Regions from separate parts of the Homo sapiens genome. Here regions 1 and 3 are each linked to region 2. The links are contacts of gene promoters, found by promoter capture Hi-C in blood cells and fetal thymus (Javierre and others, 2016). All regions are on one chromosome and are shown on one strand. The core of a region is centred on a gene start or on the middle of the fragment in contact, and the rest is flanking DNA. Distances in the headings are between cores, read along the strand shown. Region 1 holds the start of EGOT (eosinophil granule ontogeny transcript). Region 2 holds the start of RAD18 (RAD18 E3 ubiquitin protein ligase). Region 3 holds the start of ITPR1 (inositol 1,4,5-trisphosphate receptor type 1).

The links. The method cuts DNA at HindIII sites, captures the fragments that hold promoters and counts their contacts. A CHiCAGO score of 5 or more calls a contact.
Region 1: a contact is called between the fragment with the promoter of EGOT here and a fragment that was not itself captured in region 2, in 1 of 17 cell types (M0 macrophages). The highest score is 5.1, in M0 macrophages.
Region 3: a contact is called between the fragment with the promoter of ITPR1 here and a fragment that was not itself captured in region 2, in 1 of 17 cell types (fetal thymus). The highest score is 5.9, in fetal thymus.

The regions. Positions count from the first base shown.
Region 1 is chr3:4,749,960-4,753,822 of GRCh38, forward strand. It overlaps EGOT (eosinophil granule ontogeny transcript), which reads right to left and starts at 1,631. Exons shown (of 2, transcript NR_004428.1): 1 at 987-1,631; 2 at 1-51. The region is part of intron 44 of ITPR1 (inositol 1,4,5-trisphosphate receptor type 1); the gene reads left to right. The HindIII fragment of the contact is 1,839 bases long and covers 805-2,643 here.
Region 2 is chr3:8,959,540-8,963,725 of GRCh38, forward strand. It overlaps RAD18 (RAD18 E3 ubiquitin protein ligase), which reads right to left and starts at 3,933. Exons shown (of 13, transcript NM_020165.4): 1 at 3,796-3,933. The coding sequence starts at 3,846. RefSeq lists an enhancer at 3,781-3,950. The HindIII fragment of the contact is 1,072 bases long and covers 2,401-3,472 here.
Region 3 is chr3:4,491,961-4,496,106 of GRCh38, forward strand. It overlaps ITPR1 (inositol 1,4,5-trisphosphate receptor type 1), which reads left to right and starts at 1,388. Exons shown (of 62, transcript NM_001378452.1): 1 at 1,388-1,645; 2 at 2,471-2,546. It overlaps ITPR1-DT (ITPR1 divergent transcript), which reads right to left and starts at 1,203. Exons shown (of 2, transcript NR_108075.1): 1 at 824-1,203. RefSeq lists silencers at 1,457-1,726, 3,025-3,319. The HindIII fragment of the contact is 5,640 bases long and covers 1-1,810 here.

The sequences.
Region 1 (3,863 bases), core at 381-2,880, 4.2 Mb before region 2:
CCATCTTTAAGGAGGAGGCCTTTTCCATCCACTGGACTCTTACCATCGTGCCTGTTAAGGAACAAAAAGACAACTGCTTAGGCCTGGAGGGTATGTGGAAACCACCAGTTACCTTTGAATATACCTGTGGTGCTCGAACCTCCTTTAGAAAACCCAAGATGCCATTTTAATGATGCTTTGCTCTTGGGTATCAAATTTACTCCTTAATTTACCTCAGGAGATGTTCTAAGAGGAAGCCACAAGATTCCATACCTGCTGTTGTTGTTTTAGAGCTGGTGGATTTTTTTTTTTTTAATCCGCGGAGGAGGACTTGACCCTGTGGGTTCCTAACTTGGATGGCCATGCAGAGCACCCTTAACTTGGAAATCTATATCCTGCTGTTTAAACTTCAAGATGATTCCTATCTGGATTAAAGTCCTCAACCAGCAGGCCGAGGCAAACTCTAAAGAAAAACAAGGTCATGCTGCATTTTTTTTTGGTAAGCACAGGAATCAACAAAGAGATGTTATATAACTTCTATTTATATCCTCCTTGCTCACTATCTGCAGGCAGACAAGAGTCGCTGAGAAGGGATTTAATGAGCTCTCTGGGTTTGCTCACCTTCCTGAGCTGGTAGGAACCAGCTTGTTCTCAAATGCGTCAGTAAAGAATCTGGCTGTGGGTGGGCGGCCAGGGTAGGTGGACTGCGTTGTTGCTATGGTGTTTTTTAATTCCCCTGTCTCTCAAAGATCTCACTCCCCCCTTCCCTGACTCCTTCCTTTTGCCCCCTTCCTTTCTTTCTTTCTTTTTTTTTTTAAATCTGTAAGCTTCCTTGTTTCTCACACCTACTCATGATTCTTGGAGCTGTCTCCGGAAACAGAATATTTTCCCTCTCCTTCCTAAGTGCTCAGCTCCCCCATTGTGTAGCCCCGGGACATCAGAAGTTGTTTTCTAAGGTGTGTTTTTTCCACCCTCCCTTATTTCTTTTCCCATGATTTTTTTATTACCAATCCCTCCATGAGAGAGACCTATCCTAGGAGTCTTCCATCTTGCCTGATAGAAGTTTTCTCTGGCATATTCCAAATTCAGATTGCTCCAAAACCAGGTGAAGTCTGTTGCTAGTTGGACAGTCGGTATGGCCTGGAGGAGAAGGGCTGTTTGTATTTCCATGCATCCTCCTTTGTCCTCTTGCCCTGGGTGAAGCAATGACGTCTCTGTCTCCTCTAGTGCGTTATAAAATAGAACCGCAAGAAAACAAGAGAATGGGTTTACCCCACAATCATAATTCCTGGAGCTTGGGTAACTCCTGTTACCTGAAGGTTGCAGGTTGAAATGACTCAGCTTGCATTTAATTAAAAAAAAAAATGCTGCCCCATCAGATTCTCAGCAGGGACGACGAATGCACCTTGCTGAGAACCCTATGGCTGCCCAGGGAGTGGCCCCCTGCACCCTGGCCGGCCTGGTGGTGGCCACAGAGGCTTCTGAGATGGCTCTGTGTTGTCCATCACATTCCCACCAGAGCAGAGACACTTAGAAGATGTGAGTAGGGAGGTTAGGATGAAAAGTTCTTAGAAAAGAATATGTAGTTCCATGAGGACAGGCTGAAAAAATTTTTAAAAAGCCAAACCCACCTCTGCCTTGCCCAGAAGTTGTGCAATCCTTAATAGCAGTAGCCTGTTTGAATAATCAGAGGCAAGCTGACTTCCCTTTATTAACTTCTGTTAGAGACATCTGCATAAAATATCCCCGGATTCCAGACCAAGTAGGTAATTTTTTTTTCCCCTCTGAGTAACGGGAGGGACTTTCCCTTTGGAAATCTTCCAGCAGAGTTAACTTCATGGTTGAGACTGTTTTCTCATTATAAGGTGCCAACAGCTAGATTCCTGATGCAGGGACAGTGAAGGCGCCTCATGTACACACTTGGATCCCCTGCTTCCCTGAGAACTGACTTGATGTTCACAGTTGCCTCTGGTTCTTCTGCCTTGACCCTCCTTTTCACGGAGAAATCTATGCCCGCTCACATTTCCTGAGGTCCTCTGAGTTCCTCTTTGAAACTGTCAGAGGCTCTCTCAAAGTTTCTACCAATTTCCTATTCCTGGGTTTTAGACTTTTGATCAAGATGGCTCTGACACTGAAGGGGATAGTCCTGTAAACCCTCTGAAGTCTTCAAGCCTCGTTTTTCCCCTGGAATTCAGGACTTTAAAAATATATATATTTTATTGCTCTTCGAGGAGGATGTGTTGCAGTTGCCCTCACCATATGGTATTTGAGAAATATGTTTTTATTAGCCTCCTTGCAACACAAACCCACAAACTGTTGAGCCCAGAGCTTGTAGCTATCAAGTCTGGGGAGGGAGCCAGGTTTGGAGACGGAAGGTGCACAAATGATCATCCCTCCCGGGCTGTAGTTAATCATGCAAGCTGCTGTGTCACTGGGGCCGGGGTAGTTAACAGTTAACTCGATGGATTAAGGATCCTCAGCCAGGCTGAGCCCATCACAGAGTTACGTGCAAAAACCGGATAAGCCCGTAGAGGTGACAACACCACATCAGCTGCCTTTGGCTGGTCTGCGGTGTGCTGCATATTCCCACTTAGCAGGACTTTGAGCTTTCACATGCAGGCTTCTTCTGGCCATAAAGTTATACTTCAGCTGCCATGGATGCAAAGCTTGGCTTGAGTGTTTCGGAATTGCACCTCCTTCAGGATTATTGTTCATTCATTAATATAGTAAATTTTTTAAAAAGAGAGAAGAGGCCTTACTGTGTTGACCAAGCTGGCCTTGAACTCCTGGGCTGAAGAGATCTTTCTGTCTCAGCCTCCGGAGTAGCTAGAACTACTGGCTTGTGTCACCACAGCCGGCTTAATATAGCAGATGTTTACTTACTGAGCACTCCCTGGGTGTCAGGTGCTATACACATTGGCGTCAATACAGTCAGGGATGAGACCAACATAGCCCCTGCCCTCCAGGAGCTTACAGTCTTGTGGGAGACAGAGCTAGGAAATCAGCTCATCATCAGCTAAATCAGAGCTTCAGAGAAGTGTGATGGGGAAGCAAACAGGCGCCACGAAGCGTGGCCAGGGAGGGCTTCTCTGGGGAGATACCGTTCAAGCTGAGACCCAACAGATGCGAAGAGAAGGAGCTGTGTGAAGAGTAGCAGAGGGCAAGAGTATTTCAGAAGAGGGTTGGCTTGTGCTTGGGATGTTGGAGGAGCTGAGTGAAGGAAGCTAACGCGGTCTACCCCATGGTGGTCGGTCAGGGGCAGAGCTGCGGAAAGTATCTGCTCCACCAGGGTGATGGGCTTGTCATCAAGTCGGGGCTGGATGAGGTGATCTCTGTGGTTCCCGCCGATCCCTAGTCGGTGCTTCTAAAGGGCACCAAGTTGGCTTGGGCCTGTCCCCTGCTTGGATATGCGCTGCCGCCGCCAAAGCCCTAATATACAAAGCAGCTTTACCCAGATGAGTGCTGTGTGATTTCACCCTGCCCTGCTCTAACCGCTTGGCCATCTGTACATCTTACTGTCAGCTGCCAGGGATGCTCTCTGTGGCCGTGTGGAAGTTACCTGGTGGGCCAGCACACAGCAAGATGGGGATGCAGGGTGGGGAGACATGAAGAGTCCCAGAGCATTCTGCTGGGGACCAGACTCGGCTGTACCCGAGAGTCAGTTGAGTTGGGAAGGACTAGGGTTGACTGGGGGTGACTGCAGTCTTCATCAAGGAGGCACTTGCTTTGCTTGATGCTTTGCCACCTAAGCCAGTGTCCTTGCCTCCATCCGGCCTGAGTGGATTTATTTTTTTCGGCTTCTATGGCCAAGTGTCCTTGTCACAGTTTGTGTGGAGAGCAGCGAAGGGAACGTGGCTGGTGTAGACACCCTGCCGGTACTGTGC
Region 2 (4,186 bases), core at 1,687-4,186:
GTCTGGCAGTCCAGTGCTTTCGGCATGGTACTACACATGCAGCCAAATGAGGAAGCCTGGAAAGAGCTGGGGCAGTGAAAGCAGAGGAAGGGAAAGTGGACAACTTGGAAAGAGAGATGTGTGCCAACCTGGAATGCAATCCAAACAGGAACGGAACTACTCTGGCAACCTAAAATCTTTCAAATTGTTTAAAATAAAATATTATTCCATTCAACAGAAATATTTTTTAAAAGGAGGAAGCTCTCGACGGGAGGATCGCTTGAGTCCAGGAGGCGTAGGTTGCAGTGAGCCCACATCGCACCACTATACTCCAGCCTGCATGACCGAGTGAAACTGTCTCAAAAAAAAAAAAAAAAAAGAGGAAGCTCTCCATCATACTGATATGAAAAGATTGCCAAGATAAGTGAAAAAAGGAAATAAGGTATAGACAGTACATATACTATGCTACGGTTTGTTTAAAAGGAAGAGGTGAGTAAGAATGTATTCTAATAGGCCTAGCATGGTGGCTCTGTAATCCTAGCACTTTGGGAGGCCAAGGCAGGAGAACTGCTTGAGTCCAGGAGTTTGAGACCAGCCTGGCAAAATAACAAAAATCCATGTCTATAAAAAATTTAAAAATTCGTTGGGAGTAGTGGCGCATGCCTGTAGTCCCAGCTACTCAGGAGGCTGAGGCGGAAGGATTGCTTTAGCCCAGGAGTTCAAGGCTGCAGTGAGCCGTGATTGCCACTGCATTCCAGTCTGGGCGACAGTGAGACCCTATCTCAAAAAAGAAAAAAAGGAAAAAAGAATGCATTCTATTTTCATTGTAAATGTAAATAATGAGAAGATAAACAAGAAGTCATAAATAATGATCAGGGCCAGGAACATGGTAAGAAGGAGACTTTTACTTTTTATTTTATGTGTATTTTGAACCATGTGAACCTATTACCTGAATTTTAAAAATGTAAACAAAAAAGGACTAATGTCGCTAATGGTCCATATGATGAAATATTATGCAGCCATTAAAAAACATGCTTTCAAAGAATAATTAATGCCCTAGGAAAATAAAAATCAGAAAACAAACCTATGCCAATAATACATAATAATAACAACTCTGTAGTTTAATCTTCATAGCAATCTTATGAAGTCCACAGCATCAGTATCCCAATTTTAAAAATAAAGTCTACAGAGTTCCTAAGTTGGCTGGATCAAACCCAAGAAGTTGACTCCACAGTGATCCCAAATTTTAAATGCACAAAAACCAAAGGAAAATAAGGTAAAATGTTAAACACTGGTTCTCTGGGTGGTAGAATTATGGATGGTTTTATTTTTCTCCTTTATCTTATTCTGAATTTTAATTTTTTTCTACCGTGTACACATATTACATTTACAATATGCCAAAAACAGTAAATTTTTGTTAAAGTAAAACCAGGGAAATAATAAAATGCCAAAATCTTCCATTATTGTGGATGGTAAGCTGTCACAGACACAAAAATCTAAAGGGTTATGTTCAAGATCAATTAAGAGCAGAGGCAGGCCCAGAAGCCAGAACCAGTCTATTATATCACACTTTCTTATCTATGCCATCCTCTTCTGGTGGAGGAATGATTCTGAAAGATCTGCAGAGCACAATTGTGGAAGTTGACACTACATCAGATGAGCCATTTCTGGTTCAAATTTCTTGTCATGTCACTCCAAGACAGTAACATGCATATCACATGCGCCTCAACCAACTAAACAAAAAATGATGCCTGAATAGAGAGTGGTCAGCAGACTCCCCAAAATTTCTTTAGTTTAGAGAGAGAGAAAGTGAAAGGGAGAAGTAGAAAATGGGTGGAAAAACGTAATAATTACAAAAATACTCTTAAGTTTTTGGGGTTACAGATCCCTTTGAAAAATGGATGACAACTATGGACTCTCTGCTCAGAAAAACATACATGCAAAAATTTTACAAATAACTTGAGACTCCAAAGTCTTTCTGTGAATCCTAAGTTAGCAACCATGGATTCTGAGTCAGACTTCTATTCAATAAAAGAAGTAACTTCAGTCAGATCTGCTTCTGGGATCTGATAGTTCTTTGTGCCTGGAAGAGTTCAAGCAAAAATTAGGTGAGAAATTGGCAGATGTGTTATAAAGGAGATTAAAATACTGAAAGGGGCTGGTTTTCTAACCTTAAGATTCCATGATTCCAATGTGAGCAAAAAAATACGGGCTCAATCAACTCTCTGGTTGAACACTCACTGAACGCTCTGTGGTGCCAAACTCTACATTCAGTGCTGTGGTGAGATACCAAAGTCAGAGAAGACATGGAACCCGCCTCTAAAGAACACTGAAATTGTGGGAATATGTAAAGTGTGCTTAAATCTACAAAGCAGGAGCTTTACAGGTTACAGAGCTCTTTTACTTTCCTTATCCAAGTCAAGCTTCATGACAACAAATTAAAAGGGGAAAGAAGCACTTAACACAGTGCTAATAATAATAAAATATATTCATTGAATGCTTACTACATTCCAGATACTTTCAATCAAGCAGCAAATAATATTTGAGCACCCACTTGGTGTCAGGCACTGCAGTAAGCACAGTGAATACACAGCAGAATCTGTGCCCACATACATCAACTAATTTATTTAATCAATCCTATGAACTGTTATTTTTGTCTCTAATTTATAGTTGAAGAAATTCAGGCTCAGAGAGGTTAAGTTACTAACCGAAGGTCATACAGTCAAGAGGCAGACAGGAGATTTCACCCAGGACCACTGGAACTCAAATCTGTGCTCTTCTCCACTGCATCCTGGTGCCAAGCCCACAACTCCAAAACTACAGCTTTCCTGGATCATTTCACAATGTCAGCTTCTCATCATGCAGATATCTCAAGTCCCCAAGCACTCTAGACGTCACTGATGACAGCAGGAAGAACAAGGCCTTCTACTTACTTTAGCCTTCACTTAATTCTAAAGTCAAATTTATGAGTCAGTGGGACAGGTATTATAATCCCCAAGTCTACAAAACTGAGGGAGAAGAAGGCTATCTTAGCCACTGTGAGAAACGGAAATAATCACAGAGCAAGAAGAAACACCAAGCAACTGATCTTTATCCAGCACAGCAAAGTGCATCTGCTCTTGAGCAAATCCAGGGCCCACCACTACTGTAAATGGAAACTGGTATGCCTTGCCAAAACAGAAAGTGGCCACAAAAATAAATGTTATTTAAGTGAAATAATCAGACGCAATGCAAGATCAGCGCTGAGCCTGAGTCCTGATCTCTGTTTAAGAGACATGAGCAATTGTTAGAGAAGAGTGAAGGTGTGTTAGAGAGGAGTTGGGGCAGTATGTCAGAACAAACGAGCACTACGTTTATTGAGAATAATCAGAAGAAATGAAAGAGCCTGTAAAGGAGACTACCTGCTTGGCTACGTGATTACATACATGTTATCTGATAAAGTGTCCACCCAAAATCATGTCCGGTGTCACTGTTTAGTGCTTGACACAAAGTAAGCTTTCAGTAAAGAACAGCTGTCGATGTCATTGTTTGGAATAACTGTTTTTCTCCATGTTATTGTTGGGATTGGATCGCAGAATAGCTGGTGCCATAAGACTGCCAACCTCAGCTCACCAGGCTTGTCCTTGTCACTTATCAGAGGAGTAAACTGAGACCCAGAGCCACGCGGTCGGCTAGTGGCAGGGCAGAGCCGGATACCCGGGCCCAGTGCGACGCTCGCGCCTCATCCTTTCTCCTTAAGGCGAGGACATCCTCCTCAAAGGGAGGGACCTCCCCCCGCAGACACCCGGGAGCTCCCAAACTCCCCGAAGCACTCACCTTCATGACTGCCAGGCCCGGAGGCCACCGAGACTCGGCCAGGGAGTCCATGGTCGCTCCCGAGGATGCTGGGGGTCAGCCACCCACTAGCCTCCGGCGCTCCAACACCACTCGAAATTCCCCGCGCTACCGCATTACGTCAGCAGCCCGCGACGCGCCAGAGGCGGGCGCGGAGCCTGCCGGAAGTTGTAGTAGTATGTGGGCGGGGCGCCGCTTAAGGGCTTGTACTGCGCATGCGCCAGGCTTCTGCCGCACTTACCTTGAAGAAAGTGAATGGTTAAAAAGCGTAGAGCCAGTTGAATATTAAGAAAAGATAGCCAGGAATCAAACCAAATCCAGACCTCACCAGATCTGTCAAGGTCCAGGCTCATGACCCCCCTCCGGGTCGCCC
Region 3 (4,146 bases), core at 138-2,637, 4.5 Mb before region 2:
ACAAGGGTTTCATACACGTAGAGTCTGGAACGGGAGTCCAGGCTGTACCACTTAACTCGAGGGGTCATTTGGGAAGTTACCTGATTTCTCTGAGCCCTGGATTGTGCACCTGCCAAATAGATATAATAAATATACCTACAGTTGGTAAAACTCAATAGCATGACGCATGAAAACTGCATGTGGTCTGGGCTCAATAAAATCAGCCTCCCCATTGATTATTATCATTATTATTACTATTGTTATAACAGATCTTTAGGCGGCGTCAGGAAGTGCCTGTCTGGGATGCTATAATGCGTTTGGCTCACCACTATGCCCCAGCGCCTGGCACCTAGTAAACACTCAGGAAACGTTTGAGGAATGAATATACGTCATTTGAGGCAAGACAGGGCAGTCGGCTGACTGCCTCCGGGCTTAGCTCTTCCCCTCCTTGCAAAAGCCGGAGCCCTAAGCAGCGTGTAGCCCGGGAGCCCAGGCATTACTTGGCAGCGGGTGAAACCCACCTTGCCCCATTCGGAGCTCTTGGAGAGCGCCCCGCCTGGATGCGCATCTCTGTGTGAGCGGCTCTTTCCTAAGCCCTTATTTTTCTGGTTTGCGGTTTATTTACTTAAGCATTTACAGCTCCCAGGAGCAGAGGGGCTGCTAGAGGTACGGTCAGGACTGAGGTCGCGGTTTGTATTTATTTTCTGCCTCCCAATCTCAGAGCCGGCAAGTCACAACACGGCTCCTTTATTTGTGCACCGGAGAGGTCTGCCTTTCTTTACCTCCTCACGGGCGATAAAAGACAAGCAACTCGGGCTCAGAAAAGTGCTCTCACGCGACTTGCCTGTGTCTCCGCTTGCGTGGACCGTCGCTCCCAGGCTTGGTTTCTCGTGCAAACCCGAGCAGGGCGGAGCAGATTAAATAAAGACACCTCGCGCCTTTAATCCTTGACCGCAAACACTGGCGTTTTTGTGCCCCGGATTTCTGAAATTCTTGGCTCGGGGAACCAAGGCAGGGGGAGGGTGGGCTTGTAAAAACTTCCCAAAGCAGAAATCCGAGCTCCTAGCCCCTCCCCGGCCCCAGTGACACCTGGATTCCAGGGAAGGGGGGCAGCCGGAGGAGAGGCGTCCCCAAGGGTTGCGGGCGCTTCCCAGGGGTGACTTTGAACGGCTGGCTCCAAGCCCTACCGACCCCAGCCAAGGAACAGGCTCAGCAGCCTGAAAGCCTCGCAGGACGCCCCTCCCCTGTCCCCGCACGCGTCTATTTAGGGCCCAGCCCGGGCGCCCAGGGGATTCTGGGACTTGTAGTCCCTCCCCGCAGCCTCAGGCGCCGCCACGACCCGCTACTTGGACTACATTGCCCAGGGAGCTTCCCGGCCTATATAAGCCACCCGGAGCCGCTTTAAAGTGCAGTAACCATGTGGATGTGCTGCTGAAGCGTTTCCTCAAGCTCGCTGGGGTGGGAGGAGAGGAGGAGGAGGAGGTGGTGGTGGAGGAGGAGGCAGGGGGTGGAGAGAGAGAAAGCGCACGCCGAGAGGAGGTGTGGGTGTTCCGCTTCCATCCTAACGGAACGAGCTCCCTCTTCGCGGACATGGGATTACCCAGCGGCTGCTAACCCCTCTCCTCGCCCTGCTCCCCCAAACCGGCGTGGCTCCCCGGGCACCAAGGTAGCGGCTGGGGCCGGGCAGAGGGCGCGGGGAGTTGGCACTGGCTCCCCGGGCGCAGAAGTTTTTGCCCCGCTCTCGGGGAGATCTTGATGGATGTGCATGCACTTGGCATGCATTTGGGGGTTCCTTTACTGCGGGCAGTTGTTTTGGGGGGAGCTCATTTGAAGCTTAAAAAACAAATATCCTCTACTCTAGTGCGTGGCTTTGGGGGCTCCCCATTCTGGTCTGATGTGGCATTCCCCCAAGTTGGAAACTGTTGCTGCAGCTGCAGGAAATAGTTCTTTTTTTTTTTTTTTTTTTGAAGAGAGGTTGTGGGGGTGTCATATGTGAGTCTGCTCAAGGAAATAATCTTTCTAAAAATGTATCCCTCTCTTGCGCTCCGTGGTTGGGAGAATAATGCATGTGTAGGGGCCCCCCGTGGGGAGGGTTTTTAAAAACGGAAGAAAACCGGAGAAGCGGTGAGGGATGAAGTGTGGACGAAGCTCATGTCCAATGAGGATGCGGGCTTCGGATACTTGGCCTTCTCGCCGGGAAACAAGTGCTTTGGGATCTGCCAAACACTTCCCTTAGTTCCAGCCTCCCGCACGTTCGAAGTTTGTGCGTGCCTAGTCTCAATTGTCAGTTACATCCTGGAAATAAGTAAGCGTAGTTACCTGGAATCTTCGCCCAAGCGATCCCACCAACCTGCCTACCAAGTTTGGGGGCGGGGGGGCTGTCCCCAGTGAAGGAGGCTAAAGAAGGTGGAAACTTGTAATTTGGAGCATTTCTGTTAGAGCTCATCTTCCGCGGTCTGGTACTCAGTCTTCTTTCTTTCTAAATATTTAGGAGCTGACTACAGAGGAGCAGGATTTGCACCCCTCGCTGGGCTTGCTTTGGCAACAGAGTGCCTGACCCAGGTCAGGTGAGTGTGGAAGCCTGAGTGCTGTAGTCAATAATGAGTTTTTGTCCTAAGCCTATTTTAAGTTCTATCTAAACCGCCAAGGAGGTGGGGAGTAAGAAAGAAAAAGAAACTCCGTGGCTCAGTCTTCAAAATTTGCCTCTGCCTTTGGTGAGGGCTTTTGGGAGCAGAGGTCCAGTGGACAGTCCGTTTCTTGGAAGTAGCTGAGAATTGAAGGAGCCTGAAAGTTTATGAGAGAGGAGGGGAAAAGGCCATTAAATGGAGCAATAAAACGGCGGCCCATTGCCGGTCTGAAAAGCATGCTGATGATTTAAATTCTGAAGGATACAGTGCATTTCATATGCCAAAATGTGTAAGCAGTATTAACTGCCTCTCTCCTTCAAGAAATAGTCACTCTTTTCTAATTTTGAACGTGTGCTTAATCAGAGTAGGTTGGATTGCAAGAAATGAAAGTGGTTGCTGCAAGTTGAAAGAATTAGAACTTTAAAAAGGGAAGTGAGTTATTGAAGCTTAAGGTGGTAGCATCCAGCCCTTGACTCAAGCCACCTGAGTGTCAAGGAATCTGGCAGGTCCCTGTTGTTTTGGGGCCCGTGGTGGAATATGAGCTGAGAGCAGCATTTATCTGTAAACACAACAGTTCCTATTTTTTCCCCAAAATGGTCAGACTGCATTTGAAGAGTGGGAGGTTTCAACGGGTGCACGTACATCACTATTGCTGCAGATTTGGCTATCAGGAGTTTTTTCTCCTGAAATGTTCAGGAACATGGTAAATAACAGGGTAACAGAGGTAGGTGGGGGTGGGTGGCTGGGTCTTAATAACTTTTTTAACATTCTAAATATTTAGCTGTTCCCTGGGCTACAATCTTTGGGCTTTTCTAATGAGAAAATAAAAGTCAGACACTTCATTATAGTGGTATAGTGCTTTTGTTTCCTGTTGATAAGATCCTCAGGAGTACTGGCGGAGTGAGAAGCATTTGGATGTGAGAACTCTAGTTTCTTCTTGGAGTTCTGTTGACTCACATGGCTGTGTGGGTGCTCATAGAGCCAAGGATTAGGCCCAGTTCCCCTTTTCAGAATTAGCTGTACAGCAAGGAAAAACTGGTCCACAGACTCTTTTCTAACTGGTTGCTAAAAATAATAAGATGGACACATTAAGTACTTGTAAGCCAGGTCCAGAGCCATGTATCTCAGAAACCCTGTGCGTCAGATGCAGGTGAAGAAACTGAGGTGCAGAGAGTGAAATCACTTGCCCAGTAGCTAGTACAAAGTAGGAGCAGGGTGTAACCTCAGGCGGTGAGGCTGTACTGCATCCCACAAATGGACCTCAGTTGATTTGGGGATGCTGGTGGTGAGAGGGAAGCTAGGAAAAATGGTAAACTTACTGCTACTGATGAAATAACTTGCATACCTCCCACCAATGATGAAATAATACATAACATTGATGTAAGAAGGAAAGGATGTAGCCACAAACATAGGGATAAAAGAGTGCAGATATTTGAGGAGGTATTAGATACTGTAATGAGTTCATTTTGGAAAGCCTGAATGGGGAGAGTAAAAAGAAACAAAACCACAAGGAACATTATGTAAGTTAAGCATTAGGCTC